Linked DNA regions of Homo sapiens: regions 1, 2, 4, 5 and 6 are each linked to region 3. Evidence: promoter capture Hi-C in 16 types of primary human blood cells and fetal thymus (Javierre and others, 2016). All regions are on one chromosome and are shown on one strand. Each heading gives the region's core, a stretch centred on a gene start or on the middle of the fragment in contact. The rest is flanking DNA. Distances are from core to core; before and after follow the strand shown. Region 1 has its middle 45 kb from the start of CCDC26. Region 2 overlaps CCDC26 (CCDC26 long non-coding RNA). Region 3 holds the start of PVT1 (Pvt1 oncogene). Region 4 overlaps CCDC26 (CCDC26 long non-coding RNA). Region 5 has its middle 16 kb from the start of CCDC26. Region 6 overlaps CCDC26 (CCDC26 long non-coding RNA).

Region 1 (3,132 bases), core at 335-2,834, 1.9 Mb before region 3:
TTTTTCTAGTAAATTTCCAATATATGCCAGAAGGTGGCAGCATTGTCAAACAGCAGGATGCTTGGTGCTGCCTGCCACTCTCCTTTATATGCTTCCGGACCTACTGAATTCAAGGCCATCTCCTCTCTCTCACACCCTGCCCTCCTGCCTCCCCTCTTCCATGTCTTTCTCCTTGCTGGGTTAACATGGAGTGGGCTGGGAGAAGTGGGGCATCAACTGAGGGCCTAACACTGGTCTCCTTTTATATTAATATCAGAATAGAACCTCCTTCTTGAAACACTACATTGATTGTATTAAATGTCTCCCTTAAAAATCTCTGGGAGGTAAGACCAGAATGATGAGGAACTTAGAACAATTGTCAATATTTCAGAAAAGCCATGCCTTGGTAAAATGTCAACTGCTTATGCTAGGATCATTATGGATTCTGTGATAAATCTGATTGTCTCATGTTGAGCAAAGACCTGGGTTGGGAGTTTCAAATATTTTTCCATAAGCAGAGGAATATTCTCTTTAAATAAATTCAGCCAGGCAATTAAAGTCTTTCAAAACATTGGAATCTTGGTTAACACATAAGAAAGCAGGGGTGGTGAGAATCTTGGGATTCATTATCTTGGTGGATACAAAGTTCTTCTTCATTTAAAAGACTGTATTGATTAGGGCAGCAGGGCTAACCAGAAAAACCTGGGTTTGGAGTTGGGCCGATCCCTAACTTTGCAACCTCCGGTAAATAATTCAAAATCTTTGAGCTTCATTTTCCCCAGCGCATTGGATTGCTATTGACATAAATTAAATAGTGTATATAAAGAACCTAGTATAGTGCTAGCACATAGTTGATGCCCAACAAGCTTTTCTTGAATCAATGGAACTAACAGCAATAGTAATATTGAGTTTTAGAGGCCTGCTGTGTACCTGATATTGTGGTCGTGGCGAGACTCAAAAGCAACAAATGGAAAGAAGAGAAGAATATGATTTTCTGATCTGGGACATTTAAATTACTATTTTTAATTTTTAGATCTTGGGCAATCGAACACATTTGAAACTGCTCCCTGGCTCTGGAGGGGGGTGATAAGTAACTGAGATGCCAGGCCACATGCCACTTTTCTTACATACCTCACAGCATGTGGCAGAGTACACAATATCAACTCTGGAAATTGAGCTGTTAGAAAGAAAAGAACGCATGAGTGTGTCTTTGATTTGAATACAGGTAGTCAGTTCATTACCTGAGGTTCCAGGGAGGATAAATCTTGCCTTTAATCTATACCAGCTTTATTGTCAGGGAACAGGACAGGGACGTGCTGCCATTATTCACCATCACTTATTTGAGGACACTTATTTAGCCTGTACTCCAACAGATAGTCTAATAAGATACTTGATGGAGAGAGGGCATGTGTGAATGTGAATGTGGAAAATGGTGGCCCCATGGTCTTCCTCTTGAGCTTTCTCAGGCTAGCAGAGGACAGGAGCAATCACAACAGCTCAAGTTAGAAAGGGGCTGAAGGGTTAACTTGTTCAACTGGCCTTGTATTCTCAAATTCCTTTTATGATATTGCTTCAGGAGCACTTCAAGAAAACCTCCAAGTAGAGCTTGAGATCTTAGTCCCTCTGTGCCACCTTGCAATGCCTTTTTCTTCTCATGAGAAGCTGGGCTCCTCAAACTATGCCCTTTGTTAATTGTTATTTCTTTGAATACTTCAAGGCCCTGTATTCCTTCTATAGGTAGCTCCCTCCCACCCCAGTAAGGGAGGAGGATTATGTGAATTCTAATAACATTTTTTTCCATAATTTCCAATAGTTCCTTTTTGGATAATTATGCTATCTAACGCTTTTTCGCTAAAAAGTATCATTTTTTTGAAGAATTCTACTTCTGTTTCTGTGTGTGAACATATATAGTTTTCTATACAAAATTAGGAACCAGCTTGTCATTAAGTGAGTTGTTACTCATTGTTTATTGGATGCATACAAGATACCAGGAATACAGGAGGGAATAAGACAGAAAACCTGCCTTCCAGGAGTTTGTATTTTAATAAGCTGTCATCTCAGACAAGGTGAAAGAAGATTGTATTATCTATTGCAAACAAATTGTTATTGTATTATCTATTGTGTTATCAATATAATCTATTGATAAACAAATAGATTGTATTATCTATTGCATAACAAATCACCCCCAAAACGTAATGGCTTAAAATAATAAACATTTAACTTATATTTTCCTCTTTCTGCTGGTTAAGAATTTGGGAATGGCCTACCTGGCTGGTTCTGGCTTAGGGTCTTACATGTGACTGCAGTTGGATGTTGGCAAGGGCTATAGTCACCTGAAAGCTTAATTGAGGCTGGAGGATCTGTTTTGAAGATGGCTGTCTTGCATGGCTGTAGGCAGGAGGCCTTAGTTCCTAACCATGTGGTCTCTCCATAGATGGCTTGAGTGCCCTCTCAACATGGAGGCTGGATTTCTCCAGAGTGAGTGATTGCCTCAGGATACAGCAAGCCTGGCTTTCCCCAGAGGCCATGATTGCTTTAGGATGCAAAAGCAAGCTTTTGTGCCCACATATTAATTAATTAGTTAATTCAACAAGTATTTATTGAACACTTACTATTTGCTAGAAGTTCCAGCATTAAAACATACCTCATTCTTTCCTCACTGAGAGTCTGGAAAAAGTAAAAATACTTTCAGCTTAGTTAAAAATTGGAAGGGCTAGAGTAGTAGTATTTTCTAGAGTAATTCATAGAGAAATAAACCATTTAACCAAGGTAGGGGTGCAATCCAATCACTTGCAAATAAACAGTGCAACTGCCCTTGATTCAAGTGTGCTCTGGGTCTCTTTTTATTTTGGAAATCCTTGTGCTTTTGTAATGGCTGCCTAGGAACCAGGGCTTTGCTCAGTTCATGCCAGGAGTGTTTGAGCAGAGTTGATCAATGGCATTAAAATTCACTAGGTTTCCCAAGCAGTAAAAAACTGCTAGATGCGGCCAGGCGCGGTGGCTCATGCCTGTAATCCCAGCACTTTTGGAGGCCGAGGCGGGTGGATCATGAGGTCAGGAGTTCGAGACCAATCTGACCAGGATGTTGAAACCCTGTCTCTACTAAAAATACAAAAAAAAAAAAAAAAAAAAGGAGAAGAAAAAATAGCCAGG
Region 2 (3,420 bases), core at 548-3,047, 1.8 Mb before region 3:
TTCTAAGATATTTACTACTGAGTTGTAACACTTTTAAAAATATATTCTAGATACAAATCCCTTATCAGATAAACGATTTGGAAATACGTTCTTCCAAGCTGTGAGTTCTCTCTTGATGGTGTCTTTTGAAGCAACAAAAATATTAATTTTGATTGAGTCCAATTCATCAGTTTTTTTCTTTTATTGCTTGTTTTGTGTTGTATCTAAGAAATATGCCTAACCCCAAATCATGAAGACTTTTCTCTTGTGTTTTCTTCTAAGAGTTTTATAGTTTTGAGTACCTACATGTAGGCCTGTAGTCAATTTTGAGTATGTTTTTGTGTGTGGTATGAAGTAGGTGTCCTAATTAATCTTTTTGCATGTGAATATTCAACTGTTCCAGAATTATTTGGTGAAAAATAAACTTCTTTCCCATTTAGTTTTCTTGACACCCTTGTTGAAAATCTATTGTCTGTAAGGGTTTATCCATTGATCTATATGTCTATGCTTATACCAGTACCACATTGTCTTGATTAGTTTAGCTTTATAGGAAATATGCAAATTGAGAAGTGTAAGTCCTCTAATTTTGTTTTCATTTTTGAAAATTGGCTATTCTGGTTCCCTTGCATTTCCATGTGAATTTTAAGATTAGTTTGTCAATTTCTGCCAAAAGCCCAGCTGGGAATTGATAGGGATTTCATTGAATCTGTACATCTATTTGGGTAGAATCATCATCTCAACACTATTGAGTCTTCAATACATGGACATGGGGCATATTTTCATATATTTAGATATTCTTTCTTTTTGTTTTTGTTTTTTGTTTTGTTTTGTTTTGTTTTGAGACGGAGTCTCGCTCTGTCACCCAGGCTGGAGTGCAGTGGCGCGATCTCAGCTCACTGCAAGCTCCACCTCCCGGGTTCATGCCATTCTCCTGCCTCAGCCTCCTGAGTAGCTGGGACTACAGGCGCCCGCCACCACGCCCGGCTAATTTTTTGTATTTTTGGTAGAGATGGGGTTTCACCGTGTTAGCCAGGATGGTCTTGATCTCCTGACTTCGTGATCCTCCCGCCTCGGCCTCCCAAAGTGCTGCGATTACAGGCGTGAGCCACCGTGCCCAGCCGATATTCTTTCTTTCAAGAATGTTTTGTGATTTTAAGTGTGCAAGTCTTGTTCATCATCTGTTAAAATACTTTCCATTTTATTCTTTTGATGTCATTGTGAACTGAATTTTTTCTTAATTTCATTTTCAGATTGTTCATTGCTTGTACAAATACAGTCAATTTTTGTGAATTTATCTTCTATCATGTGACCTTGCTAAACTTGTTATTTCCAGTATTTTTAATGGATCCTTTGGATTTTCTACATACAAAATCCTGTCATCTTCTTCCTTGCTACTTGGGTGCCCATTATTTTATATGCTTGCCTGATTTCACTGGCTAGATCCTGTAGTACAATGTTGAATAGAAGTGCCAAAGCAGACGTCCTTGCTTTATTCTGAATCTTATGGGGGAAAGCATATAGTCTTTTTAGCATTAAGTGTGGTGTTAGCTGTAAATTTTTTGTAGATGCTCTTTATCATGATGAGAAATTTTCCTTCTATTCCAAGTTTTGAAATCATGAATGCACACTGGATTTTGTTGAATGTGTTTTCTGTGTCTATTGAGATGATTATGTATTTTTTTTTGATTTTTGTTGTCAAAACAATGTTGCATTCCTGTGATAAATCTCACTTGGCCAAGGTGTTTAATCCTTTTTACGTGGCTTGCTAAATATTTTGTTGAGAATTTCTTCATTGCTTCTTGGCTAATCTTTTTCCATTTAGTTATTTCCTCTCTGCTTTTAATAATATTCTCATGAGAAAGTAGCTAAAGATCAAAATAGTGAAGATTCACTGGAGTTGACCATGTTGGAAGGGAATTTTGTATATCAGGTAGAGGTGAAAGTGAGACTGGATCATCATTGTTCATAACCCACTTCTCTCAACCACCTTGGAATCCTGGATTTCTAGGCAGTATCCAAACAGCATATAAAGGCAGAATGGTTAAGAAATTATTTAGGTGACCTTTGCCAAAGATGAATAAAAAAGATTAAGCAAGAGGATTTTTCTTTTTCACAAACCTTTGTTTCTTTTTCTTCTTTAACATGACTTACTGCAGGCTAGATACTGTGCTAAGTGCTTTATATGTGTTATCCAGTGGTATACTTACCTTCATGTTGAAACATGTGGAGTTCAAATAACTTGTCCAAGATTACCCAATCTACAATAGCAAGGCAAAGATTCAATATTGCCTGATGCTAAATCATAAGCTCTTATCCATTTTTTCAAGGAGCTTCTTCTTCCCCTTCCCTTCTTTACTTCTTTCCTGTATCTTCTCTCTCTCCCTTATTCGATTCACATTTATTGAGCCTTTGCTATACTGGTAAAAATTAGTATTATTATTTAACATTTTTTAAGCACTTTTGATGGACTGGAAAATATGCTTTTTCATTAATGATTATTAGATTGTTTAATTCTTATAAGTATCTTTGAGGTATGTGCTTTCATTGGTCTCATTTCATAATTGGGAAAACTGATGTCAAGAGTTTACATAAACTTTCCCAAGGTCACAGAGCTAATAAATGATGGAATCTTAAGATCAGAACTGAATCCAAGTAATCCTTTAATGGTATATGCTATGGTTATGAAGAAAATATGACAAACGCACTAGACTTAAACTGGGGGCATGTTTTAAAATGCTATTAAAGAGAATGAAGAAAATAAACATAGTGTATAAAACCTGCTTGGAACAATTAACTTCTCTCGGAGAAGCAGTAGAAGGCTCACTGAGAATGATAGATATTCATGATGTTAAAATAAGAGCAGGAGTTAGCTGATATGTGGCAGTGGCAAGGAAAAGTCAAGCATTTCAGGTGAGAGGAACCTCACGGACAAAGACAAAGCAATGTGAAAATGGCCATCAACTTCAAAGACAGGTGAGAAGTTCAGAGAAAAGCAGTGCACAGTGGTATGGGGAAACAGTGAGCAAGGATGCCCTAGATGCTGGGGGCTGGAGCCAGGTTGGGAAGGGCCCAAGCCAAGGTTTCAGCACCAGGGCACCCTTTTGAGCACCGGAATGACACGATCAACCTTGATTTGCGGGATCATCCCAAGATGGTGGCCAGGAGATCAGGGTAGCGGGGTCTGACAACAGCAAGAAAGATAAGCAGGTGCAGGGTGAATCTAGTTTATTACTTTGACTACACCATGTGAATCTGGGGCAATGGATTCTTTCTATATCAGTGGGTATGATGAGATAAATTGTGTATAGGATTTAGAGGTAGGCCCAATTGTGTTCCATTCCTAACTCAGCTGGCTTCTTTGCGTGTCCCTGGGTTACTATGATTTCTCTCTGAAGGTGGCTTTCAGGAACAGGGATAAAAGTAGCTGGCTCTTAAGGAGAT
Region 3 (3,345 bases), core at 317-2,816:
TATACCCCACAGTCATACCCGTAAGTGGAATTCCAGTTGGGCCCTTGTGCCGAAGCTTTAGACCACGAGGCACGTCCTCACCTCCAAGATGTAACTCATCTCAAATAATGGAGACCAGGCCACGAGGTTTCTCCCAGACACGGATTCTGTATTTGTCCTTCTGCAGCTTCCGGGAAGGTTTTTCTCCTAATAAATCCTGTAGAAAGTTCCACTCAGGGTTCTGAGGATTGATACAACCCCCTTCTTGACTGATCAGAGCTTTAGAAAGATTCGCTATGACCACAGGACTGTGTCAAGTTGAACAAGTCTCAACTTGTCGCTGCCAGTATGCAAAATAGGTCTGAAACATCTTATAACAGACAACACAGCAGACACAGTCCCTGCATCCTCAGGGCCCCCGCCCACCCACCACACACAAACACATTTCTCTAGAGTTTTTTTTTCCTAGCAAGGAACTAGCCCCAGTAGCCAGGATTCACAGTGGTGGAGTGGGCGAGAGACAGGCTAACAGCCTCTCTCTGGAAAACCTAATACCAGAAAGGAAACACCAAAACCTCATCCTCTTGTCCCTAAATCCTTGCACGTGATTTCTTCTCCTCTCTAATGTTCTAGAAGGGCCTAAAGTCAGGAGCTTAGATGAACAGAAGAATCTTCCATGCCTGCAAACCACCAGGAAAAGGCATGAGGCATCCACACACAGACGCATGCAGCTTCATGGCTGTGCTTCCTGAAAGTCTACACCCAGAACCACAAACACTGGCATAAATAAGAGCACGTTAGCAAGAGAAGGCAAACCTAATTAAATCAACAGCCCAGCCAAGAAGAATGACCATGATGAGGGTTTAGGAGCACCCAACAAACCCTCACATGCGATGCAAAAACTGAGAAAGTCTCAAAACACGGAGTTACTGAGTTTTTGGAAATCACCTTCGCCCAGCCCTGAGGGGGTGTGAGAGGAAGCGGGGAGTGATGGTCAAAGGATGGAGGGAGGATCACACATTCACAGACCTCTAGTTTCGCCAGAGGGGCCTCCAAACCACATCATGGCTCCAAATCTGTTCTGACTGCAGAGGGGTCTATTTTTAGAAATTAGTTAATATGCCTTTGATCAAGTTCATAAATCCAGAATTGCCTCTATGCACCGGCCATTCGGTGTCATCCCCCTCCCCTCACCCTCCCCAAACGCCCAAACTCGCCACCAGTCTTGAGGCTGGTGATGAGGACAGTGCACGCCTAGCACACACATATTGGATTCCGAAAGCCCCTTTCCTCCGTCCGACTACTCACAGCGCATCCCTACTCAGGGCCAAGTCTCGAGAGTTTCCAGAAACGCAGGGGACAAAATTGGAACTTACTGGAGGGCAGATCTGGCCGTGTCTCCACAGGTCACAGGGACCGCCAACATCCTTTCCGCAAGGAAATCCACTGGAAGGTGCCGGGGGTCCCGGGGCACATCTTTGCTCGCAGCTCGTCGTCGCCCCTCCTCGTCCCGGCCGCCCCGAGCCCGCCCGGCCCGCGGGCCCATGTGCTCGGCCGCCACACGCGCTCTGCCCGGAGGAGCGCGGGGCTGGCGGGTTGCCCGTGACGTCACGGCGGCTCGCGCTCGGGCCTCGGGGGAGGGGGGAGGCGCGCGCGGCCCGGCCCGCCGCGTGCGTCCTCGGTCCCGGCGCTCCCGGCCTTCCCCAGGTCCCCGCCCGCCGCCCGGTGCGCCCCTCAGCCTGCTTCCCGGCAGCGCAGGGCACTGAGCCGGAGAGGGCCGCGCGCGGAGGCGGGGCGGGCTTGGGCGACTGCGGCCGCCAAGGGCCCAGACTGGGGGAGCGGAGGGTAGGCTCTGCCCTGGGCTGGGGGTCCTCGCTACAAGCGCGCCGGAGTCCCACCGGGCCGGAGGGAATCCCCGGTGATGCCAGCTCGCTTGTGCGCCGAGCTTTCCACGGTCTTTCCCTGAGCCCTCTTACCCTTCCCCACACCGTCCTGGAAGCAAGCGGTCTTCCCACTTTCCTGCTGAGGAAGGCGAGTTCAGTGAAATAGGAGGGCCAGAGATGCTCCGGGATAGGTGCAGTTCCCGCAGAAGACCGCCGACTGAGCTCCAGCTCCAGTGATCTGAGCGCCTCTTTGGGTACCACCCAGCATCCGCCGGCCTGGTGAGAAGGGCGCGCGCACCTTCTCGCCTCCTTCGACGTCTCCCGCTGTTTCCAGAAGCCGAGTTGCAAACCCGTGCAGAGGGCCAGCGGTCTGCGCAGCTCCCTCCACTCCGGGCAGAGTTGACCTACAGAGTGTGTTCAACGAGTCCCTTAAATGCCCAGTAGTTCCTCCAAAGGAGCAAGTGGACACTGGCCTCCCATGTGGGATGTGGTTATCTTGTTCTATCTGCATAAACCCGAGACTGGACAGATGTAAGAGCTGCCCCTGTTCAGTTCAAAGTTTATTTTATTTATTTATTTATTTATTTATTTATTTATTTATTTAGAGATGAAGTTTCACTCTGTCACCCAGGCTGGAGTGCAGTGGCCCGATCATGGCTCACTGCAACCTCCGCCTGCCTGGTTCAAGCGATTCTCCTGCCTCAGCCTCCGGAGTAGCTGGGATCACAGGCGCGCGCCACCACGCCCAGCTAATTTTTGTAATTTTAGCAGAGACAAGGTTTCACCATGTTGGCCAGGCTGGTCTCGAACTCCGAACCTGAGATGATCCACTCGCTTCGGCCTCCCAAATTGCTGGGATTACAGGCGTGAGCCACCACGCCAGCGCCCGTCCAGTTCAACGTCTACTGAGCACTTAAGGGGAGTCAGGCACCCAGCTAGGCAATGGGGTGGGGGTTACTCATGGACCCTAGAAGGACGTCACAAACCAGCAAAAATTGGACACACAAATGGGTGGTATCAATATTACGGAACAGAAGGTTGCCCCTCTTCTCCCCTGCCGGCTACCCTACATCCTACTCACTCCAACCTACCCGGAGGCTCCTCCCTCTTTCTGTGTAGTGTTTCATCACATCTCTTCCCGTGGCGGCTTCTCAACGCAAATGTTCTTATTTGAAAAAGAAAAAACAATTACTCAGTTGATGCTCCTGTTCTGCCTGTTTCACAGATTCATTTACACTCATGGGCATCTCTTTTGTGCCTGGCTCCTTGCCAGGAGCTGGACAAGTCTCCGCTTTGTGCCTGGCTCTCTGTGAGGGGCTGGACAGGTGTCTGTTTTGTGCCTGGCTCTCTGTGAGGGGCTAGACAGGTGTCTGTTTTGTGCCCGGCTCTGAGAGGGACTGGGCAGGTGCCTGAGCTGCAGTTGGCATCTAGTTGTCATCCATCTTTTAAAATATAAAAAGAAGATGATGAGAAACCTCTGCAT
Region 4 (3,330 bases), core at 261-2,760, 1.9 Mb before region 3:
CTCTGATTAAAATTGCAACAAATCCCTTACCCTGGTACTTCCCCGATTCTCTGCTCTGTGTTCTCCATCACACTTGACACCCTGTCGCATACTTTACAATTTACTTAGAAACACCTGTCTTCTATTACAAGAATGTAAGGTTCACCAGGGCATGGATTTTTGTCTGTTTTACTTACTGCTGTATCCCCAAGCACTGAGAGTAGGAAATCCTAAATATTTGTTGAATGAGTGAATGAATTTCAAATTCAACAAAAGCCGCAGAAATGAGAGAATAGAAAGTCACCCATGCAGGCTTGTCAGACACACTGGCATGGTTTGGGTGATGACTTTTTCCCTCCCTTCCATCAAAATAAGACTCCTAAAGCTGATGTTATTATTGAAAGCAGCAGTGGGGAACGGGGTGGGAAAGGTGGCTCATGAAGAATAACGAAGTCAGCACTTCCAGTGAGCTTGGGTAAGTTAGAAGCTGGGCGGTCATGTGTGACTTCCATTAATCATCCTCTTCACACCATATCAATACAAGTGACAACTTTTGTCTGTACCTGCTGCCTTCAGTGCCATGATATATGACCTGTGGAGAGTCCAAGTACTAATAGTTGAAGAACCCAAAAAGATGAATGCTCACATCTTGACCCTTGAGAGAAGAGTTCGTCATAATGAAGGGTGAATGGACCATGCAAATATGTACTGGCTTTGGTCTCTCCATCCTGGCCTGGTGCCCATTATCCTGGAAGAAGAGATGGTCCTTGTGCATGGTAGCTTTGTGTCCATTTGGTTGCATGGCATGATTCTTTGAGAAGTTAACTGGAGAGTGGGGCAGATGGGGGCAAAGTTATGAGATAAGGCAAAACAGTGAGATTCAGAGCCTCTCTGCTGTGTACCATCTTTTCTCCTTTTCATTCCCTTCTACCCCCACAGGGGCTGTAGGTGAGACAGCAGTATGATAGAGATGAAGACTTGGTTCAAGAATCTCATTTTGCCATTTTCCATACCCTTGGGCAAATTATTGATTTGTTTAGCTTTACCCATGATTTATAGAGTGATAATCCTTTGTAGCTATATAAAATTTTAGTTATCACAAATGGCTTTAGCACTTGTTAGCTAATAAGATCCTCTCAATTCTGTAAGGTTAGGGAAGATATAATTATCTCTATTTTACAGTGAAACAAACCCCTAGGATTCTGAGAATTCAAGCTATTTGTCTGAGGTCACAAGGCTTGTAAACAGAGGAGATGAAATAAAAGTTAGGTTCTTCTGTTTTCTGTCCCCTATAAAATTTCAAGAGTCTTTCAGGCATTCAAACCTAATTCATTGACATTGAATTATAGTAGCTCATGATAATCATTCCAGGAAAGATTTTCTTAAAAATCAGAAGATAGAAGAAGGGCTTGAAGACAATAGTAACCAGAAGATCTGCGCTCCGAGTTACTAACTCATCCAGGCTGCTTAGACCAAGTAAACGAAACAAGGAGGCAGCTTAAGTTTTACGAAAGCATGCTTCTTTCCAGAATTTAAACATTAATTAAACATCTATGTATGTTGGCACTGTGCTGGTTCTGGGAATGCAATGATGACCAAGATCCAATTCTTATCCTTCAAAGGGGCTCAGAGACTAGTGGGAGAGTCAGAGTATTGAATACATAAATTTAAGAAGGCATCCTAGTGGTTTGGGTTTACAGATGACAGGGAGGGCAAATGAGAGGAAGAATTAATTGCAAATGGAAGAATTGCAGATTGCATTCAGGAAAGATTCAGAGTGAAGCTGAAACTGAGATTGGAGAGTCTAACACACAGTGAATGCTGAAAAAAATTGATTTCCGGCTGGGTGCGGTGGCTCACGCCTGTAATCCCAGCACTTTGGGAGGCTGAGGCGGGCGGATTACGAGGTCAGGAGATCGAGACCGTCCTGGCTAACACGGTGAAACCCTGTCTCTACTAAAAATACAAAAAATTAGCCAGGCGTGGTGGTGGGCGCCTGTAGTCCCAGCTACTCCGGAGGCTGAGGCAGGAGAATGGCATGAACCCGGGAGGCGGAGCTTGCAGTGAGCCGAGATTGCACCACTGCACTCCAGCCTGGGCGACAGAGTGAGACTCCGTCTCAAAAATAAATAAATAAATAAATAAATAAATTAAAAAACAATAAAAAATTGATCTCCTCCCTCCCTTCATCATTACTAGTCCCAAACACATTCCCCTTATAATTTTTCCTGAAGGGTCAATTATGCTTTTTCCAGGGAGGATACTTTTATATTCTTCAGCATATACACACCCTGGCCTGTGGGGGGATGCAGACCAATGGATGTCCTTTTTGAGTTGTCCATGAGAGAAAACCCTGGAAACTTACAGAAGCTGAGATGACCCTGATTAAGAATGGCTCCTTTTTGCAGGATGACAAGATTGTGCCTACCTCAACATATTTCTGTCCTGAAATAATTCAGTTTTGCTAAGAAGGCAGAAAAGGAGAGAGTAACCTTCTGCAAAGTGCCCCTGAGGTGTGAGACCAGATGTGAACATTAGTCTGAACAGTTTAATGAGCCAGCGCTGAAGATCACTCCCAGCAATGTACTGGGATGTTGATAAGACGTTCCTTATTCAAAGGCCACTTGTCAGCTTTGTGACAAACATGGAGAACCAGGAAATGGGCAAAAAAAAAGACTTAACGATGACGGTGTCAATGTCAAAAAGTCAGTGGAGGGCCAGGTGTGTGGTGGCTTGAGCCTGTAATCCCAGCTACTCAGGAGGGTGAGGTGGGAGGATCGCTTGGACCCGGGAGTTCAAGACCAGCCTGAACAACACAGGGAGACTCTTTCTCTAAGGAAAAAAAAATCCCATGGAATACAGCAACGTGTTTCTGGCTTTGGAATAGAACTTATTTATTCTTAGAAACAGTCCTCACTTGGCAATCTGGTTTCCTAAGACATAGCAGATTAGATACAGAAAATTTTAAAAGTGTGAAGAGGAAGGGGCTGCAAGGTTTTGCTCAGGCAAGCTGCATAAAATCCAGAGAGCCTGGCAGACAACAACTAGCAAGAAGTAGAGAAGACTCAGTAGGTGCCAAGCTTCTGGCATTCTGTGCAAGGACAATAGTGTATGATAGCTCAGTAGTTCCCATGGCTTTTGCAGTGTAATTAATAATGACCCTTGGTCACTGAACAAGACTAAAATTATGTCTTAATATCTCAGTTTACAAAGATAAGAGAGGTGAGACACTTTTCCTTCCAAAATAGCCAAGATATTTAATTATACTTAAAAGTTTTTATTTTAGTTTGAAAGAAATCATTCATCAGAAATATCTTTTTCTTGATAAAATTAGACTAATGAAGTATTACT
Region 5 (3,102 bases), core at 444-2,943, 1.9 Mb before region 3:
ATTTTCTACCAACGCTTGTTATATACCAACTTGCCCTTTTGCCATAAGATGGCTTAAATCACATCCAGTCCCCCTTGCTTTCAATGGGGTTCAGAACACAATATTCCCTGGTAGTATGTTTAATATTTAAGTCTTTATAGCTACAGGGATAGTGGAGTATTTAACAGGGGAGGGGACAGGGTGAAGGTACTGCTGGGTTATGTTGCTACATGGTTCTGGACTGAGAGGCTCCTCAAACCTCCATGTTTATTGGGGTTGTACGTTTGCCAAGTTGAACAACCTCCTTAAGTTGTACGGTGATATCGTTCATGTCCTGCAGATGGAGATGTTACTACATGTAAGAGAGTTTTAGACAGTGACTTGAAGTGCCACACCTCCCTTTCCAAAAAAAAAAGTAAGTTTTTTCTTGTTCCTTCTTTGAAAAATGGGGCAAGAGCTTTCTAAATGGATGTATATGTCCAAGCTTTAGGTAAGATTTAAAATGAATTTGAAAGAAACCATATCCTCTTCTCATACCTTTCCCTTCTGCTGGGTTCAGCAATATCTATGATCCTTTTCTCCTTCCTTCCCTCCCTCCCTCCCTCCCTCCTTCCCTCCCTTCCTCCTTCCTTCCCTCCCTCCCTCTCTCCCACCTCCCTCCAATCCTTCTTTCCTTCCTTCCTTCCTTCGTTCCTTCCTTCCTTCCTTCCTTTCCCGTATTTGTACCACTTTATTTATTTAACACATGGAATTTTAGAACAATTTAATATAAATTGAGAAAGGTGACATTTGTACTTGTTAATAGCACATATAATTTCATTTCAAAAAGTGTATAATAGAAAAGACTAGAAGGAAATCTGCCAAAGTATTGACAGTGGTTTCCTCCACTGGTAAGTAGGTTCATAAAGAACTTCTTTTGGTATTTTATTAATTTTATTTTTTAAAACTATTGTACAAAAATTTGACTTATTTTGGTGTACAGTTCTATGAATTTCAACATATGAATTTGCATAACTGCCATATGGCTGCTTTCTCTCCTCCTTTTACCCTCACCCGGCCCTCTCAGTCTTTCCTACTTCTTCTCCCCTCTCTCTGTCCATTCCTTCCTGCTTTCCTTGGCTGGCTTGTCTTTCTCTAAATGCCAGTGTTTCAGCTTTTTTACTTTTATTTTTTAAAGTAGGGACTCTATCCTAATGGTGTTCTTATTCACTCATATATTATCTTATTACCTTCATGCCAAATGGCCCCCAAACTATATCTCCAATCCAGATGTCTCGGTTCCACTCCAGATCCACTTGCTGCACACCTTTTGGACATCACCGGGATGTCCCATAAATAACTCAAACACTACATGTCACCAACTAAATTCATTGTTTCTTCCTGTTGTGGGTGTGTCTCTGGCATTCCAAATCTCTCTTAACAGGGACACTGGAAACCTCACCTCCCGAGCTGGAAACCTCAGGAGCATTTTTATGCTCTTTCTATTGCCTCCTGCATAAATCAATTGCCAAGTCCCGTGTGTGGTGTTGGTGTTTTAGGTGTGACTCTTGATCCATTGCCATATGTCTATCCTCATTGTCTTTTGCCTTAGTCTGGGCTCTCTGCCTTGCCATGGTTGTGAGCGTTCACTTTAAAAACCTCCTAATTGGTGTCTTTGTCTCTAGCTTCTCTTGTCTCCTATCCATCCTTCCCATGGCCAGCATGGGATTCATCTTCATCAAACACAGATGTGATATTACACTCTTGTGCTTAAACTCCTTCCATAGCCATGGGAGGGCGTTCCAGGTGCTAGCTAGAGCTTCCATGATGGCCCTGTGAAACTTTGTGAGTCTCATCTTCCTCTGCCCAGCTCCATGGCCCAACTCCTCTCTCAAGATCCACTACGTAAATGGGGCACCCCAACACTATGCTCAGAGAGCCCTTGCATGTTCCTCAAACCAGAAACCTTCCACTCTATTGTCAAGAATGAGTTAAAAATTCCCTGTTCTCAACTCTTCCAGGAAATTCTAATTGTGCTTTATTTTGGACTCTCCTGCATGCTGACCACAGGGAGGTGGGAAGTTACTCTCCAGAGGAGATGATCTGAACCTAAAGGACCTTCACAATATGAGAAATGTCCAAAAAATAACAGAATGAGATAAGGACCAAGAGAAAGATGGAGTAAGAAATAGAGAAGGAAAATGAAGGTTAAAAAACCAGAGGATGATGGTGAGAGCTATCACATGATACAAGGTGGTATATGATTCATCAAATTCAATCTTCACAAGTATCATAAGAATTTATTTTTCAGATTAGGAAGGTAAGGTTCAAAGAATTTGAGTAACTTGCCCCAAATAACATGGTTTTGTGAGTTCAAAGGTTTGTGCTTTGCAGTATAGAAAACTTGTTCATAGGTGCTCATCAAGTTGGCTCTTGGGGGAGCAGTTTCTAAGTCAGAACATTTTTTTTTTTTTTCTGAGACAGGATCTTACTCTATCACCCAGGCTGGAGTGCAGTAGTGTGATCTCTGTTCACTGCAACCTCTGCCTCCCTGGCTCAAGTGATCCTCCCATCTCAGCCTCCCCAGTAGCTGGGACTACAGGCATGTACCACTGTGCCCAGCTAATTTTTGTGTGTGTGTGTTTTGTAGAGACAGGGTTTTGTCATGTTGCCCAGGCTGGTCTTGAACACCCACACCCACCTCAGCCTCCCAAAGTGCTGGAATTATAAGCGTGAGCCACTGCATCCATCCAGAACTTATCTTCTCTTTGGAGTGTTGACATAACCAAGTAGAGTAGACCTGGAGTCATTGGCTAATGGCCAACATTCTCCCCTCAGATGGTTGCTGACATTCAAAGGAAACCTCTTCAGCACAAGCCCTCTAAAATCCCTTGACCCAGGAAAGATGTGAAAACCAGCTCAGTGGGGGTGAGAATGGGCATTCACAGCTGTCGCCCAAGCTTCCCTCTCAGAATGAGTTAGTACCTAGCTTGGAACAGGGAGAAGGGTGTCAGACTCCTGAAGCAAGACCACCTCCTGGTCCTGCCAGAGTCACTCCTGGTGAATAGTGTGTTTTCCCAGAATTCTGGACCTGTCTGCTTTCAAATGCAAGAATTGAAAAGCAGGCCAAGTCCAGAAGGCAGG
Region 6 (3,171 bases), core at 296-2,795, 1.8 Mb before region 3:
AAAGAGAGAGTTTCTCAGTGTGGGGGATTAACACAATGTTTCTCAGGTAGTCAGTGGTAGAACAAGAAGAAGGCACATTTCTTTTTTTCCAGGTAAATGGCACACTGCAGTAATTTTGCTTGGGAGGTTCATATCGAGTGACCAAAGCTGCCAGCTGCTTACAGTAGGTAGACCACCATAAGTAGTGTGCCATGCAGACATCCAGAGTTTATTTCTGTGTGCTAAGAAATGGAAAGGCGTAGTCAATGAGCATTGTACACTGCATGATCTGGATTCTATTTTAGATTTGTGATGATCAGATGCTATTTTGTGATTATGTTCATTTTTAACCTAAAAACTTTGAAATGGATATTTCCAATGTCAAAATTAGAGGAGACTTATGTAGTTGTGTGTATGTGTGGTTTCTGTGTTGGAGAGTGACTTGGAAACCATAGCGAACTGATGATAGCAGCCGTTATGATTTGACTAGTCTGGCATGAATTTTTCCCAAAGATATGCAACGCCGATCATCCGAAGACTACTTACTTACCAGAAAAAAATAAAAGATAAAAAAAAAAAAAAAAAGAAGAAAAATAATGCTCTTGAAGGGGAGAGCTAAAGCAAACCTGTAAGGGCTTTTTATGGCCCAAATTTTCTTCTGCAAGAGGCACCTTCTTAAAAGTGATACAGGAGGGCTGAGGTTCTGTTTTTTTCTATTTTCTTTATAACTGTACTCATGGGAAGTTGCAAAAGCTGAACAGAAAGTATGAAATCTGGAAGTTTAAAAAAAGGCACAAAACCTCCCCAAAGTGGCCCCAAAATGACTGATACTGAGAAACAAGGACATTTTGCACATTTTTAACTGTGTCATATCCAACTCATTTGGTTGATTTTCTGTGTTTTTGTTTGTTTGTTTGTTTTTGTACTCATGTAGGATATTAAGAAAGCCTATAGATTATTGCTTAGGCCACTTCCTCACAGACTCTTTCAGTATCATGAGAATTCTTCTTGTTGTTTATCATTAATAAAAAAGTTCCAGAAATACCACCTTAAACAGAGCAAGTCACGTGGACGTTGGATCTGATATGCAGGACATACTGGCAGATGTAATTGAGCAAGGTTCAAGACAATGCCACTCCGGTACAAGTCATAACCATATCCAGATCTGGTTTGTATAGGTGACTGAGATAACCTCAGCCTCATCTCAGGAAGTGGCCACTTTTGGAGAGTCCGACTATCACGGTAGGCACAGAACTCTGCCATGTCACTAGCTGAATGACCTCGGATGTCACTTCAACTCTGAGCCTTAGAACTTGTCAACTGCAAAGTGGGGCACTTCACCGAGCTACATCATTGAGCTACTTCACTGAGCTACTTCATTGAATTGGGAAAATTAAAGGAGCAAATATGGGAGAAGGATTTGGCCCATAGTAAACACTATGACTGTCCGTCTTCTGCCATCTTTCAGTAGACCCAGTGGAATTATATGAAGGTTGATAGGCACTTAAACCAAGAATATATGAACATCTATTCTGTGCAAGATGTGTGCATTGAACTCAGTCCAGGACTGAAGGGGACAGGAGGAAGGTAAGGGGGCTCACATTTGTTCATTACATGTGTTAGGCTCTGTGCATGATCATCTTATATATGTCATATTTAATTCTCGCAATAATCCTATGGAGTGGGAATTATCACACAAGTACTCATCCCCCTTTATGGATTAAGAAACAGAGATTCAGGGAGTTTCTTACCTTTCTAAGGTCATTCAACTAAGTAAGTGCCAGCCTTGGGAAAGAAGTTTAGCTTTCCCTGTTGTTTCTCATGCAACTGAACAAGCTCATAATCTCAGACATGTATTTTAGGAAGTTCCCTGTAGAAGGACTGTACCTAATTGCTTTCATTTTTAACAATGGTTGGGTCATAGGTTTCCTGATGTGCTGATTAGCAGTATCTCTTTACTATCTGAAGACAGTGTTTGCCCCCCAGCCTTTCTGTTGTCAAGAGTAGGGAACTGCCTTTTGAAACCATTGTCCTGAGTGCAAGAGGGAGTGACAAAGAGATCATCAACTAAGGATCTCAGCTTTAAGTGTTCAGATTTGGCCAAATTATTTTTCTAGTTCTCCAAGTCCTACCTCATTTTCACACCTTTATGTCTTTGTATGAGCTGTTTACCTGATTTTACAAAGCCTAACTCACCCTTCTAGATCCTGCTGGACTTTCATGTCAAGGCTGTCTTTACTCCAAGGTAGAATGAAGTGCTCCCTTATTTTTCATATGTCTCAGCAGCTATTGCAATGTAGTATGCTTAACTGGCTTCCCATTCAGCTCCACTAAACTGGGAGCTTCCTGAAGGTATACACTGTGTCTTACTCATCTTTGCATCTACTATTCACTGTATGGCACACATATAATTTTGTGTATTAATGCTAGTAAATCAATGAATCAAAGACAACTAGCCTTGGCCTCTGCATTTATGTGGCATATCTGAGAGCCACATTTGCTAACAATTTGTGCCCACTTTTCAGACATTTGCCTGTTCTCAGCACCCTCAATTTTACTCTTCTATAGTCAGAGCAATCTTAGAATAGCTCTAATTGATGACCATTTTGGTCCAAACTCTACCTTGACTGTTGATTTCTATTCTCTGCCTGGGACTCTTGAAGATTTCTATTTAATTGGTTTGGGCACTTGCCTCGCACAGTGAATTGTTTAAATATAACCAGCACAATACAAGACGCTTAGGCTGCAGCTCTGAAATCAGTATATGAGGAAGAGACACACATGCGTGCAAAAGAGAGAAACCATTCATGAGTGCTGGGGGTGGGGGAAGGGAGAGCAGTTGAAAAGCATGTGAAAGCCACTTCCTTTTCTCATGTGAGTAGAAACTCCAGCAGAACTTATCAGAACCATTCATCTATATGATCATTCATTCATCTGTTTATTCATTCATTCATCTTGGATAGCCCAGATTATTGCAAGAGCCCCTCAGTGATCCCTCTCCCTCTCTTCTGGCCCCTGCTCAGACCATATTCGCAGCACTGAACATGACCTTTCTCTGGTTCTCTGTTATTCACAAGATAAAGGGCAAGCTCCTTAGCATGGCATCCAAGAACACTGATCTAGTCTCTGGCTGGCTACTAGTCCCCCTTGTCTCTTACAGCCTGACTTGTGCACCTCTCTAAGCTCCAGCAA

The links. The method cuts DNA at HindIII sites, captures the fragments that hold promoters and counts their contacts. A CHiCAGO score of 5 or more calls a contact.
Region 1: a fragment that was not itself captured here is called in contact with the fragment with the promoter of PVT1 in region 3 in 1 of 17 cell types (monocytes); the score reaches 6.6 in monocytes.
Region 2: a contact is called between a fragment that was not itself captured here and the fragment with the promoter of PVT1 in region 3, in 1 of 17 cell types (neutrophils). The highest score is 5.1, in neutrophils.
Region 4: a contact is called between a fragment that was not itself captured here and the fragment with the promoter of PVT1 in region 3, in 3 of 17 cell types (monocytes, erythroblasts and neutrophils). The highest score is 6.4, in monocytes.
Region 5: a contact is called between a fragment that was not itself captured here and the fragment with the promoter of PVT1 in region 3, in 2 of 17 cell types (erythroblasts and monocytes). The highest score is 7.1, in erythroblasts.
Region 6: a contact is called between a fragment that was not itself captured here and the fragment with the promoter of PVT1 in region 3, in 1 of 17 cell types (erythroblasts). The highest score is 9.3, in erythroblasts.

What each region holds. Positions count from the first base shown.
Region 1 is chr8:129,723,399-129,726,530 of GRCh38, reverse strand. It overlaps a transcript of GSDMC not described here. Among named protein-coding and RNA genes, the nearest start is that of CCDC26, 45 kb to the right of the region's middle. The HindIII fragment of the contact is 1,474 bases long and covers 848-2,321 here.
Region 2 is chr8:129,567,702-129,571,121 of GRCh38, reverse strand. All of the region lies in intron 1 of CCDC26 (CCDC26 long non-coding RNA), which reads left to right. Among named protein-coding and RNA genes, the nearest start is that of MIR3686, 85 kb to the right of the region's middle. The HindIII fragment of the contact is 5,467 bases long and covers 1-3,420 here.
Region 3 is chr8:127,792,745-127,796,089 of GRCh38, reverse strand. It overlaps PVT1 (Pvt1 oncogene), which reads right to left and starts at 1,566. Exons shown (of 9, transcript NR_190187.1): 1 at 1,356-1,566. MIR1204 (microRNA 1204) reads right to left here and starts at 128; the gene lies at 62-128. RefSeq lists enhancers at 91-430, 531-580, 302-873, 874-1,443, 2,586-3,156 and silencers at 1,561-1,720, 1,731-1,790, 1,811-1,860. The HindIII fragment of the contact is 6,547 bases long and covers 58-3,345 here.
Region 4 is chr8:129,672,992-129,676,321 of GRCh38, reverse strand. All of the region lies in intron 1 of CCDC26 (CCDC26 long non-coding RNA), which reads left to right. Among named protein-coding and RNA genes, the nearest start is that of CCDC26, 5.6 kb to the left of the region's middle. The HindIII fragment of the contact is 3,102 bases long and covers 1-3,061 here.
Region 5 is chr8:129,694,529-129,697,630 of GRCh38, reverse strand. No RefSeq gene overlaps it. Among named protein-coding and RNA genes, the nearest start is that of CCDC26, 16 kb to the right of the region's middle. The HindIII fragment of the contact is 2,455 bases long and covers 466-2,920 here.
Region 6 is chr8:129,546,629-129,549,799 of GRCh38, reverse strand. All of the region lies in intron 1 of CCDC26 (CCDC26 long non-coding RNA), which reads left to right. Among named protein-coding and RNA genes, the nearest start is that of MIR3686, 64 kb to the right of the region's middle. RefSeq lists an enhancer at 978-1,097 and a silencer at 1,508-1,557. The HindIII fragment of the contact is 4,991 bases long and covers 1-3,171 here.